2 separate regions of the Homo sapiens genome follow, and region 1 is linked to region 2. Evidence: promoter capture Hi-C in 16 types of primary human blood cells and fetal thymus (Javierre and others, 2016). All regions are on one chromosome and are shown on one strand. The core of a region is centred on a gene start or on the middle of the fragment in contact, and the rest is flanking DNA. Distances in the headings are between cores, read along the strand shown.

Region 1 (7,378 bases), core at 477-2,976, 110 kb before region 2:
GGAGGCAGAGCCCCGTCCTCCCAGGCAGACTCAAGCTTCCCTGTGCTCTTGGGGGCCAGGAGCAGGCAGGAGCTCCACCATCCTGAGCACAGCTGCAGCTACCCAAGCCATGGCTGTGGACCAGGGCATCTTGGCACTCTCAGGGGCCCAGGAAGAACCCCTTCCCCCACAGGCTTGGAGACGTCTGCTCCCCCTGCCTGGCCTCTCCCCACTCCTGGCACCCCTTCCAATCTCAGAGCAAGGTTGGGGCTGAGCCTGGGCACTCTGCTAACATACCAGCTTCCTGCCACCTCAGCCTCCTCCAGACTTTGGCCACCAACAAGCACAGGAGAGAGACTGAAGCAGGGGCTGAAGGCAGCTTGGCACTGGCCTGCAGGCACTCCTTGACCGAACAGCCTGGGTGCCCAGAACAGTGGCAGGAGGCATAGAGTCTCCTGGATGGAAGGGGATGGGTCCCACAAAGCCCCACCTTCAAGCCAGGGAGGCTCTGAAGCCTGGGGGCTGGGTTGCCAGTCAGTGGGCCAGAATGGGAACTTGTGGTGCTTTTTCCCCCCAGACTGCCCATGGCCGCCCATTGACCAATCAGCACACACTTCCTCCCTCTGGCTGGCTGAGGCCCAGGCCCATAAAAGCCCTGGACTCGGTTACCCACTCCAGGGTCCCCTCTCTGCTGAGAGCTGAACAGTAGCTGAGACACCCTGCTTATGAAGAGGAGCTAGTCACTGTGGGTCTCCTCTAAGCTATTCTGTAGCTCAATAAAGCTCCTCTTCACCTTGCTCACCCTCCACTTGTCCACATACCTCATTCTTCCTGGATATAGGACAAGAACTCAGGAACCACCAAATGGTGGAGCTAAAAGAGTTTTAACAAATAGGGCTGAAACATGCTCCTTGCTTGCCACGTTGCAGGTGACAAGAAGGAGAGAAGAGCTGTGGCCCTTTGGGGATACCAGACCTGGAAGCTCCCCAAGTCAAGGCTGTAACAGCCTCTTTGGGGCTCTGTAGTTCCTGTAACAGCCTCTTTGGGGCTCTGTCTCCAAGCTTCTGGGTGCCACCATATTCCCCGGTGCCAGCACAGAAGCTGCTTGTGGCATGCTTGGTTCAGCTGCAGCCTCACAGGGAACCAGTGCCCATGCTGTCACCTGGAGTTGCTCCCCCCACCGCAGCTGTCATGCCTGGCTGTGCATGGTAGCCTGAACCCCATGCTCACTCACACACCCCTTGCCACTCTGCACCTGGCTAGCCCTTGGCCAGCGTGGGACCCAGGCCAGTAGAGTGAGCCAAATGCAGCCTGGCAGGCCAAGGAGGCAGAACAAGCCTGGTGGGCCTGAGCAAAACTCAGGCAAAGGTGCCACTGGCCACAGGGGTTTCCAGCTGGTGAAGTGACACCCCAAGAATCCTGTGACCATACTGAGAAAATAAAATATAGTATAAGGTGGTTAGTGCCTGGCATATAACAAATGCTCATTAAAGCTATTATCACTACCAGCACAACTAACAGAAAAACACAGTTATGGAAAACTGCTTATTTTCAATGGTCTATGGATCTTCTAGCAAACTCAGAATCAGACATTTGCCTAATATGATAAATAATAATATCATAAACCAAGACCCTACAGTACATTAAATCAGAGGTGAGCAAACTACAACCTGCAGGGGAAATCCAGCTCACTACCTGCTTTTGTAAATAAAGTTTTATTGAAACCCAATCCCGATCATTCATTTACCTACTGTCTATGGCTGCTTTCACACCACAATGGCAGAGTTGAATAGCTGCAACAGAAACTGCATTGCCCACAAAGACAAAAATATTGACTTCCTAATAAAGTTATCTTGGAAGACAGTTTAGTGTCCAAAATGGTATTTTAAGTTGATTATCTATAACTTAATAAAAGGTAATATTTTATGATATGTTGTTATAAAGAACTCTAAAATATAAAAAAGAGAAGAATTGCGTTTGTGAATCTTGTCTTCTAAATACAATGATGCCATTTTGGAATGTTCACTGCCCTGTTAATTAAAATCATAAAGAATATTCCCATTTCTTTCCCAAGTGTTTCCATGAAGTCAGAAGGAAAACTAAGAGATAAAGTTGAAAGTGAATATAATGGATATTTGGTATATACCAGGTGCCATGCTTGATACTTTACAAACACAGTAAATTCTTGTTATTCGCAGTAGTTGTGTTATATGAATTTACCCCAAACACTAAATTAATGAATACTGGACCATCACTCTTATGGAAAATACAGGGTTAGGTTCCTGGGAACCTTTGGTCACATCACCTTTGTCAACCAATCAATACCTAACCTTGTTTAAGTGTATTTCTTTTTAAAAACATCTGATTTAGTATATGTTGTTAATTCGTTAATGTTGAACTCATGGCCAACAGAACTATAACTCATGCCTGAATAAAGCTTATCTAACACATGTATTTTTCTCTGAAAGGCATAGCACAGCCCTCTTGTACTTAGGAACACTAGCCTTCACATTGGCACTATACTTGGAGGGCCATTTTAAGCAGCAAAATCACCCAAAAAAATAACTAAAATGCTAAACACATAGTACTAAATAAACCACCAAAAGGACACTTGTTTACAGTATGAGAAAAGCAGTAAGAAGTCAAAGTGTCACCTTGTTCATTCATGTAGTTGGGTGACTCAGATATCTCACCACTCTGCATATGTCTGCAAATAACTATGAAAGCATTGAGTGTATTAATTTGGGGGTTACAAATAAATTTTAGCAAGTAGTCAAATTTGCAAATATTGAATCCATGAATAATGAGGATTAACTGTGTTTATAGTAGACTGGTGAGGGAGGAAGGGATTATGCCTATATACCAGATGAGGAAACTGAGCCACAGTGCATTTAAATAACCTGATTAAAAAGGTTAACTAGTTAACAGTTAACCAATGGCAAAGCTGAAACTCAAATTCTGGTCTGTCTGATTCCAAAGGTGGGGCCTCAGAGAAAATTCAGTTCAAAAAATTATTACAACCAATACAAAAAGGGCAAACAATTCCAACCAAATTAATCATCATACATCACATCATTCTTCATTCCTATCCTGAACTGTTAATGTTCATGTGCATTATACAGCAATAACCATTTTAGCAATAACCTCATATTTCTTGTGGATTTTTAATGTACTACTCCTAAAACATGCATTAAAAATATTTTAGCAAGTTTCTATCTTCCATAAGTCTAATGACTTTGCCTATAAAAGGAAAATAATAACAATAGCTATCTCAATGAGTTGTGGGAATAAAGGAGATATATCATATAAAGCATTTAGCATATTACCTGGCATGCAGCACACAATAAATATTAAATACAATTATTAATAGTTTAGGCTGGACTCAGTGGCTCACACCTGTAATCCCAGCACTTTGGGAGGCTGAGGCAGGCAGACTGCTTGAGGTCAGGAGTTTGAGACCAGCTTGGACAACAAGGTGAAACCCTATCTCTACAAAAAACACAAAAAGTTAGCCAGGCGAGGTGGCGCACACCTGTAATCTCAGCTACTTGGGAGGCTGAGGCATGAGAATTGCTTGAGCCTGGAAGACAGAGTTTGCAGTAAGCTTAGATCATGCCACTGCACCCCAGCCTGGGCAACAGAGCAAGCCTCTGTCAAAAAAAAAAAAAAAAAACCCACACAATTATTGATAGTTTAATTCAGGGACATGGGACACACATCTCTATAAGAACTCTGCCAGTGGATTACATCCTTCAGATTAATTATGCAGTCAAATTAGTTGAATAAGTATAGGGCCTTTAATAATACAGAGGAGCTAGTAAGTCTAAAGCTTTTCATAGTTTAATCATTTGCTACTCCTCAATCTTTTTCATCCTGGAAGTCAGGCTTAGAGACACCTGTCAAAGGAAGAAAAGAGCCACACTTTCTTGGTAAACACTGTTTACTCCACAAGACTATGTCAACAGAGTTAGCACTGCTGACTTCCTTTGATGGCCACCAAAACTACCTGCTTTTCCTTTTATCTTCCATCCTAGCCTCATCCACTCTCTATGTCAACACTGCTACCTTGGCATTTGTTCTTTAATTAGATCATCAGGTTTTTTAATAATCTTAAAGACTGTACTATTTTCATTCAGTTTTTTTAGCATACAACATAGGAACCCTTCAACAAGCAGTATGATAGACAGTTATTATTAATAGCTGTTGTTAACTGTTGTTAGCTGTTTTGAACATGAATTTACCGTATTTAATTTGAATCAATTAGTCATTTCTAATTTTTCTTCTTCAACAACCTTGAAATCTTAGAGAAACTGAATTAAAGATAGGCAAACTCCAAAGTTTTTAATGAGAACAGAAAGACCTTATTTGCCTAAGGTCTTAGGCACTACTTAACAGTGGCCTCAAGTATTTCACAATAGTTTACCTAAGCACCCAGTGAAAGAGTGATATTTAAAAACCCAACATCTTGAAGTCTAAACTGTAACCAAGAGGTCATTTGCTGCACTCACTGTTCTTTTTATCAGCCTTATGCCTCTTCTTTTCTGACATTTATTTCTGCTACTGTGAATCTGTAAAGGTTTAAATATGCAGGTGTGAATAATCAGATACGGAAAAAGCATTTATATTAGTCCGTCCCCAAGTAGCAAATATCTTAGGCAATTTACTTAACCTCTGTGCTTATTCACACTCCACCATCCCCTTCTCCCTCCTAGGACTGCTTATAATAATCCAATGTGAGACTCTGGAAGCCACTCTGAAAATAAAGAGTGTTGAAAATACAAAGCACTGCTATGATCATGCAACTACCCAGCACAATATGCCAAATAACTGTTACTGAATTGAATCATTTATATGCTGATTATCATCTATGATTTATGCCTAACAATAAAGAACATCTATTTTTAATCATTGTACCACAAGGCCACATAGTTTTGCTTTTTCTTCCTCCAGAGACCTCATGTTTTGAAAGACTATGGCTGTCAATTACATTTATTCATAATTTACTCATTTTTGCTCTTTTTAATCAAAGTTTTTATTACTAAAATATGTTTTCTAAACAGTGAACAGCAATAGTAAGTAATAATAAACGGATTTTCAATTTACTTGTTTAATGAGATGTTAATGATATAGTGAACCTATGCAAACTTATTACAGATAAATATCTGGGAACAACATTGTGGCTTTCTCAGAGCTTCCATGATAGTCTAATCTAGACTGATCTTCCTCAAAATAAATCAAATTTATATCTCACTAAGTATAAATTCATTGTAATCCATCTTGTCAGTTAATATCAGCTAAGTATAATTATATATATTTGTGGGGAAATATAAAGTAAATCAATTCCAGGATCAAGACAAGCCCATATGTCTATTTTTCTTCAATGGGTTAGTCTTATTTAAATAAGATGAATAAGGTTCAAACCATAGACATTCTTATATCGACGACACGCTGATGCTCTTGCAACTGTTCTTACTATTACTCACTGCCATTAAGGATAATACAAAGAAAGAGAACAATGCTTAGTGTGTGAACCTCACAAATAAGTTCTACTTCCATCTCTCATGTAGCCAATTAATTATCATTATCAGATAATTAAAACTTTAAGTGCCTGCCAGATTTATTATCATTCTTTTCACACACCAAAAAAGCAGAAAATGGCATCTAAGAGAGACTGAACAGCATATTGAATCCAGCAAATCTCAGATCTTCTTCCTCCTTCAGTACCAGTGATAAGGACAGCACTTGAACACCATCCTTTTAAGCTGTTATTTGTGAAATTCTTAGAGAAGAAAAAGTAATCTATAATTCTCATTTTATGAAAATAAAAGTATGATAGGGAAAGTCAAACAGTACATTAAAACAGGCCATTTCTTGCTGATATTCTCTTAATCACAGTAAAGCAGATTTTTTCCCCTGGCTGAAGGGAATTCTTGTTCTCTCTAATTGGGAATTTTTTTTTTATCCTGAGGGTAGTTTTCATGTCAAAACATACAAGGCAACAATGAAAGCTGGTTGTGAGTACATCAACTATCTGTCATGTTCAATTTAAGGCTGGAAGAGGAGAAAGGAAGGTAACACTGTCCAAATACTAATAGTGGCAGACATTGCAATATTCCTATCAGAAGAGAATATTCATGAGCATTAAGAAGATATATTAGTATTGCACTATAATTCACAGGTAATGTGATTTGAGGCATGATTTGATCACAGAATGAATAAATCTGTGATATGTAATAATAACAATTAAAATAATCAGAATCACCAAAAGAGACCTTTGAGATTATCTGATCCAAACCATCCCAATTCAGATTCCAAGTTTCTTCTTCTGTGTAACCATAAGCAACCAAGTTCAACTTTTCTACTGTTTCTAGTGGCAGACTTTCTAACAGACTCCATGACTCTCTACCCAATAAACCCACGGTTACCATGCAGCCAGAAGATTTTAGTATAACTAAACTGAGAAAAATCCACTGTCTTCAAGTGAAAAATAATAGCATTAGAAAAGAACTCTGCAAAAAACAAAAAAAAAAGGAAAAGAAAAGAAAAAGAAAAAAAGAAAACAAAAATAAAAGGGGAAAAAAAAAGAACTCTGCCTTAAAAGTCACAGGATGTGAGTTCTAGCTCCAGCAGTGTCACTTAGCCATCTGAAGTAACAGATGCAAAGCTGCTATGTCAGCTCTGAAGTGGCATGATAAAATTATCAGAACTGAAATCTTGAAGCCCAATCCCACCAATAACAATTTTTAATTTTTCACTAAGAGTTGGCGGTGAAGTTGTAGGACACATGGATATACTTTGTAAGTTACTTGTGAAATTCTCAGAGAAGAAAGAGAAACCTGTTTTCATCTTTCATTTTACAAAACAAAAGTGAGATGGAGACACACAAAAGAGTACAGTAATATGAACCCATTCTAGCTAGCATTTCCTAACTCACTGTTCCCTGAAAAGATTATTTAGTGAAAAGTACTGCCTTTATATTTCTGAAAACTAATTTCACATCCAACATCCTTTCCAGTGGGTCTTCACATAGCCCTATCAAGTGGAACTGTATGACTATCACTGCATTTCTTAGGACTTATCAGCCAGAAGCTTGATAATTTAAAAGTAGAAGTCACCTCCTGGCAAGAAAACTGATACGTGTGACACCACAGATAGTAATCCCCGTTAAATCAGCAGAGGCTAGATTTAAAGTTCATATCTTTTTATAAGAAAAGCTAACTAAGGAATGTTTAATCTCTGAAAGAACAAAACAGAAATGTATTTTATTGCAGCTTCTTGACTTCAATGTTTGATGGGGGAGGGGAGAAATCTCAGTTCATTGGGCACAGGATGACACAAGGCTTACAGAAAAAAGACAATAGTGAAGGTCAAGGGAAGAAAAATGTTCAGAGTATGTGAT
Region 2 (6,689 bases), core at 4,187-6,686:
TAAAGAATTATTATAAGATGCAAGACTCTGCTGGAGAAGACACTATGATAGGAAAACGTGCCACTCTATACTATGCTCTGCTATTTCCATCCCTTGTGCTAAAATATGACACTTCACAGATCTGTCAACTCTTGGTTTTACATTGTAAATATTGATGGTGTGAATACTTGCTCGCATTTGCCTAAAACATGAGAAATGATTCTAAGCATAAGAACTGGAAATGGAAAATTCACCTCCACAGGCATTAACAGGAAAGATTAGTTACGTTAACTGCTTGAAAACAGAGGCTGAGTCCTAACTCCTTCAATAACAGTGTGACTGTAGAACCTTTGACAGCTTCACCCATAGCCCATGGCCTTCAGGGACTTCCTACAGAAAGGATGTTTCTCAGCTGTGCCCATCAAGTTCTGAAACAAAAAACATGACCATTACAGGTCTTGTGGTTTACATGGATTTTGAAGACCCAGTAGCTTACCAAATCTAGGAAGGCTCTATAACACAATTCCACTCCATCACCACCATCTCACCTCCCAGTTAACACTCAACCCATCTCCACCATCCCATAGGAAACACTCTGGTGCTGAGCACCAGTGACCTAATCACAGAATTCAATCTTCTCTCTTCAGTCATCATCTTATTTGGATTTCATCGGGCAACTGACACACAATGAGCCCTATCTTCTTCAAAGGCTTTTCTTTTTCCCACAACTCCACACTCACATTTCTTCTTTACCAGCCATTGCTACATGTCTCCTTTGTGAACTCCTCGGTTTCTGTCCCCTTTCATGTAGGTAAAACCCAAGTCCTATCTTCAGCACTTTGTTCTCACTCCCTGCATGATCTCAACCAATCCAGTCATTTCAACAATGTCTTCCATTCAAGTTATTCCCAGGTCACCACACCAGCCCACACCATGCCCCTGAGGAACAGGGCCTAATAATACCTAACTGCCTACTCAACAGCTCTACATAAAGTCACTCCTTCCAGACAGAACAAGCTCCTTATCCCATCTTCTTCACATTTCTTCTCAGGGAGGTTAAGAGGCACCATCCTCTAATCAAGTTAGAACATTTCATTCTCTCACCCTCTGCATCCACTCACTGCCAATTCTATCTAAAGCATACTACTCCTCTTTTTGAAGTCCTACTACTGCATCCTATTGCCTACCAAATGAAGACCAGCTTCTTAGTGTGATATAAGGTCCCTTATGATAGGCTCCTGCCTGCCTGTCAGATTCATCTCTCATTAAGCTTCTCATTGCATGCTGTACTTCAGTTAGAACCAATTACAATACAATGCTGTTTCATGTTTCTGCCCTTTTTCAATCTGTGCTCTTCACCTGAAATGTCTTTCCCCCAAACTAGCCTACACTCACATCTGACCCTTGTCTGCTTGGCAAATTCCTACTTATCAATTAAGTCTCATTCACTTCCTCCATAGGGCCTTTTCTGATCCCACCCCCCTCAGTAGATATGATGGCCCATTGCTTCTTTCATGGCTTCAAATCACTTAACTGCAATGTTTGTTTACATATCTGTCTCATCCTTATCCAATTAAATTATATTCTTTAAATTACTAATTTCATATCTGACATTTTGTCTAGCACATGGTATAAACTGAATGTGGAACAAAAACTGTTAGCAAAACTCATCATTCAGTAGTCAGGGAGAACAGCAGAATTGCATTATGCAAGATTTTACAGCAGTGAACTAAGAATCAGCTATTTTGTGATTTAATTTACCAAATGTAAATAATACAGACATAATCCAATTAGTTCTGTTCTTTTTACTCTCATGTACTTTTCTATCTTCTGATACCTTACTGCAACTCTGAATTATCTGTTGGCCTTTATATTTTTTTGCTCTGGCAGCCCCATTAAGTCCTATTATTCACTGAGTCAAAAATGTCATGCCAAGTCTTGGATGGGCCTATCCTAGGAACCTCTGGAGTCTCACTGTAGACTCTTCCCAAAATATCAGGATCTAGCTCTACTAATCTAGCAATAATCAGCCCTCATATTTATATTTCTCCTTTATCTTATATTAATCTCATTTCATCCTCATAATACAAATAATTGGTCATGTTTCATTAATAACATTTTATAAGTGAAACACAGGCCAAGAAACCCAAAGAAGATTTACCTTTTATAAGTTCACCCCATACAAAAACCTGAGGAATTCTATACTTTCTGATGTCCAGGCCTCATTTATTTCCTTTGAATACCATTTTCCAAAGTCACATCCTATTCTTGTGCTTCATCTGCCAGCACTTTGACTTTCCTTTTATTTCTGTCTCCCAAATGATCGCTTCCTGTTTGTGCGTGTGCTTCCACACTGCTGATCTGATCACCAGCTGAACATTCCAACACAATAACTTTTCTCCCCCTTTCGACTTCATAATCCAAAGACTTTGACAAAGGAATATGTATTTTATGAGTTTCACCCCAGAGTCCATTCCTCTGCAAAAATCTAAATGTAACTTTTACCCATAACCTAGTTTTTGAAGGGCCTTTTTTCTGAACTCAGGCAATTATAACTGGATGACTCCCAGGCCAGTTCTCTGCATTTGTCTTCCTTTAGTTGCTTTCCTCTAAAACCAGGCAGGAAAATCAGAGTTTATGTAACTTTGTTAAACATGACTACTTCTACAAAAATATTAATAAATGAGGGTGACACAAACTACTGGGGGGAAATGAGGTTCAAAATGGCCTATAGCTTTTTCTATACTCCTCAACATTCTCTCACATTGAGAGTTGGTTTTAGCTCTCAGCCTGAAAATTCCTCACTTTAACTGCCCTCACTCTGTTCCCCACTGCATAGTCTGTCCTTTGTGGCATTTGCCTCCTTTAATGTTAACAAAAAGTGGAAAATGATAAACGAGCAGGAGTGAACACAGAGTAGTTACTTTAACTGTGTCTTTATTCACAGGCGTTTAGCCCACAATCCCATAACTGTATTCAGAGGAAAGGGCTGAGCTCAAGAGGATACCCTTTCCCCACTCCCAGCACAAACATTCCTTTACCTTCAAAGTCTGAAAATAACTTGCCCTCCCCACTTTCCTCTTAAAAACAATGTCAGAGAAAAACAATGACCAATTCTGTAAATTAGCTCCACTGGTTAGACCAGATATCAAACAGATTCAACCCCTGGGAGGTCACTAGGCCTCTTCTACTTCCAAGAACTTCTAACTCCCATTAGTTCCTCTTACTTGTCAGTCATCAGGAAGAACATAAATGGATCTGTGCATTAACATTTATAAAAACATACAGCCAAAGGCAGGCTCAATAGCGTCCTCCTATATATTTTATTTATTCTCATTTTTCAGAAGGAAAATGTAAATTTCAGATCTCAACGGATGAGTCACATGCAATTTCTAAAGCCAATGCAGTAAGGACCTGTGATCAAGTGAACCCAGCCTTCCTGAACCTTCTGTCATCTCTCTGCCCCTCCTTTCAATCTTTGTTTTAGGTTGCAGACTCTTCTTTCTAGGTATACATGTGTAGGACATGTGTTCATCTAAAAGATTAGTCTAGTTGTAGAGACCAAAGGCATCACTTCTATTGACCCTGACCTTCGCCTACTTCAAGCAGATTTTCATTACTAAGAATCGATGTTATCAGAAGCTTAAGACTTTTCAGTTTAGAAAAATATATTCTGCATATTAGAAGTTGGGGGCTGGAGGATAAAGTTTATCTTGTCACAACTGTTCAATCTGAGATGTCCAAGAAGCAGCTTTCTGTGGAAACCTGGAATAATGGATTATTCCCAGGTGATATGTAAAGTTGTAGAATATAGATTAAGCTCATTATACTAAAAAGCCCTAAAATTAAACACAGCTGTTTGTTGAGCTCTTGCCCTGATTTCCCCAATTACAACATTGCTGTGTGTTCGCACACAAGCCTTTGATCCGATTCTCTTTCATTTCAGTCTGTCCTGGGACCTGTACTGTAGGAGAGAAAGACGAAAATCCATAGATGATGGATGATGTGTAGAACACAGATACTCTGTAATTCAAGTCTCGGTAAAATTCAGAAGTTAGAGCAACATACACAAACAAGAGGGTCTGGCCTTTCTTCCCAGAGGGGCTATTGGCTAACCTATTTTTGCTACATTAATTAAAACGACCCATCGCCCTGATTCCTAACAATCTTCCTAAAAACAGTATCTATTCCATATATCCTCCCAACACAATCAAAGTAGGTCAGAAATGTTGCTTCCTTCCCCTCATTGATTTTCATTAAGAGGATGCACTTTCTGAACACTAAATGGAAAGATAAACACCCAATACAAGAACCAATGACACCCCCTGTAAATTTTTGGCACACTGTCTCGTTCTTCTAAAAGCCAGATAAAAATCTCATCTCCCATAGTTTATCCTTTTTGGCTGTAAAACAACAATGATTACAAGCTATAAAATACACCGCGGCAATACTTCAGCCAGGTGATAAAGCACCTCCCAAAAGAAGCATATTCACTGTCTTTTCTAATTTTCTCCATCATCAACCTGCATCTTCTCTACCAAGTACATACTCCTTTTTTTTCCCCCCCAAATTCAAATCCACATTTTGTCAGAAGGATGCTAAGTGACACCATACATTGGCTTAGCAAACCCACAGGGCCTTAATCAGGAAGCTGAGGGCAGGGGAGTAGGACGAAGGCGTTTGCAGAGACAGGGGAGTGGAGACAGGGGGAGGAGGAGCGGGAAATCCTCTGGTGTCTGTGTCTGGCTCTCTGGAAAAGCTGTGATGAGATGGTTCTTCAAATCCCACTGGTGGGGCTTCCCCAGTCTCCTCCCCTTCCTGAAATCTTTCCCTCGACCCCAGGTCCTCAAACCTGGCTGTCCAAAAAGGACGCCGCAAAGTCCTGCAGAGCCCCCAAAAGACACAAGCGCGGACAGAAAAGCATCCCCCGAGAGACAGCGAAGCCACACACCCTCTCCGGGCCAGCTACCAGGGCGGGCAACTTCACCCCTCGAAGCAAACGAAAGCCCCTGTTCTCCAAGCAAAGGAAAAGGGGATGGCAAACAGAAATAAACAGGAACCGCTCTCAGCCTTCATCTTCCGCGCCCTCCCCCAGCAAACTCCAGGTAGAGGACCAGGTGCTGCTCACCTCCTGGCAAGGAGGAAGCGGGCGGCTGGAGGAGGAGGGCAGGTCCCCAGCCCAGGCCGCCTGGCAGCCGGCGAGCGCCCAGCAGCAAATCCAGGCGGGGCTCCAGGGCGGCGAGCGCCCGCGGCGGGGAGCCTCCGCCGGCCGCCCCCAGCCCCTGCCCCGTACCGGCCCCCGGGCGCGGAACAGCATCTTCGTCCGGCCGCGGTCGGCGGGCCGGCGGCAAGGCAGCCTTCCCGGGGTGCGGCGGCAGCTCCGGCTCCCGGGCCGCGACTGCTGTGCGCTCGTCTCGCCGCTCCGTCACCCGCTGCCCGTCCGCCCGCTGACAGCTCTGCTGCGCTCGCGGCCCGGGCAGCCAGCGCCGATGCTCCCGTCACGCCGGAGGGAGGGACCGCGGGGCGCGGGCGCGGCGCGGGGGCGGGACGCGGGGCGGGGACGCTGGAGCTGGGGAGCAGGTGGCGCGGGCGGGGGCTGCGGCCCAGCCCGGCGGGTCCCCAGGGGCTGCGCGGCGCTCGCCTCGCGCTAGAGGGCGAGAGAGGCTGGGGACCCCGTGGAGTAGCCTGTCTCAGGTCCCCGTGGCCCACTGGGAGGGGCGCTCCCGGGATGAAGCCAGAGTAAATACAGGACATCAGGACATTGTTTTCTGGCGGTGGGTCTTTAAAAAGCTCGCCACTTTCCTCATTGCACACAAACACGCAGATGTGCCCTCGGAACATCCCTTGTAAGGATCCATGCTGGCTAGCGTCAGATCGAATTTCTAGTTAGGGTGTGCATGAAATGGCGGGGAAGAAAGAGGACTGAGGTGTAGACGTGGTGTGTGACTCAGTTTTCTCACCTATTTAATGAAAATAATACCCACCACGTAGGATTATTATGAGGATTAAGTAAGTTGATGTACATAAAGCACTTGGAAGAGTGCCTGGCACACAGTAGGTGACATGTGTTGGTAGTAGTAGCCATAATTATTGCTGCTATTGGTGTTATTTTGTGGAGATGTGTAACATTGGGCATTAAGCCCTGTGTTTTCTGGAGGAAACAGTTTCTCCATCTGTGCGATGATTGAGGTGCTCTTCGTTTTTTCTTTCATTCAAAAACATACTGAACTAGGTGATGGTGAACAAGATGGACATAAGGCCTTCCTCAGTGGCAAGGATCTCAAGATCCCTTCTTGATCTCAGATTCTGTAAATGGGTGAGTTATTGTGTTTTTCAAAAGAAGCATCCAAATTTCTGATTATTGAATATCTGGACAAATCCACGTGGCCCACTCATTATAAGTTGGCCTGTGGCACATTTGTTTGTGGCATTATCTCTAATATCCTTTTAACAAAATTTCCACATGAAAGTCTCTGTATATGTGTGTTTGTGTGTATGTATACACATATAGATTTGTGTATCACACCTATATTCTGATTATAACAATATATGTTATTTGTAAACATTTTGGAAAATATTGAAAAGTATCAGGAAGAATATAAAAATAACTAGAGATCCTACCACCCAGAGATAACATTGTTAATGGTATTAACATGTTGAGGAATTTCCTTGCTTTTTTTTTTTTAACTCTGTGTGTACTGCAAAACTGG

The links. The method cuts DNA at HindIII sites, captures the fragments that hold promoters and counts their contacts. A CHiCAGO score of 5 or more calls a contact.
Region 1: a fragment that was not itself captured here is called in contact with the fragment with the promoter of ELAPOR2 in region 2 in 7 of 17 cell types (naive CD4 T cells, naive CD8 T cells, total CD8 T cells and 4 more); the score reaches 6.3 in naive CD4 T cells.

Annotation. Positions count from the first base shown.
Region 1 is chr7:86,949,460-86,956,837 of GRCh38, forward strand. All of the region lies in intron 2 of ELAPOR2 (endosome-lysosome associated apoptosis and autophagy regulator family member 2), which reads right to left. Among named protein-coding and RNA genes, the nearest start is that of ELAPOR2, 110 kb to the right of the region's middle. RefSeq lists enhancers at 1-60, 61-597, 295-484, 946-1,015 and a silencer at 605-654. The HindIII fragment of the contact is 1,376 bases long and covers 1,039-2,414 here.
Region 2 is chr7:87,054,218-87,060,906 of GRCh38, forward strand. It overlaps ELAPOR2 (endosome-lysosome associated apoptosis and autophagy regulator family member 2), which reads right to left and starts at 5,437. Exons shown (of 22, transcript NM_001142749.3): 1 at 5,108-5,437. The coding sequence starts at 5,296. RefSeq lists an enhancer at 4,399-4,899 and silencers at 5,165-5,234, 5,325-5,714. The HindIII fragment of the contact is 3,663 bases long and covers 3,620-6,689 here.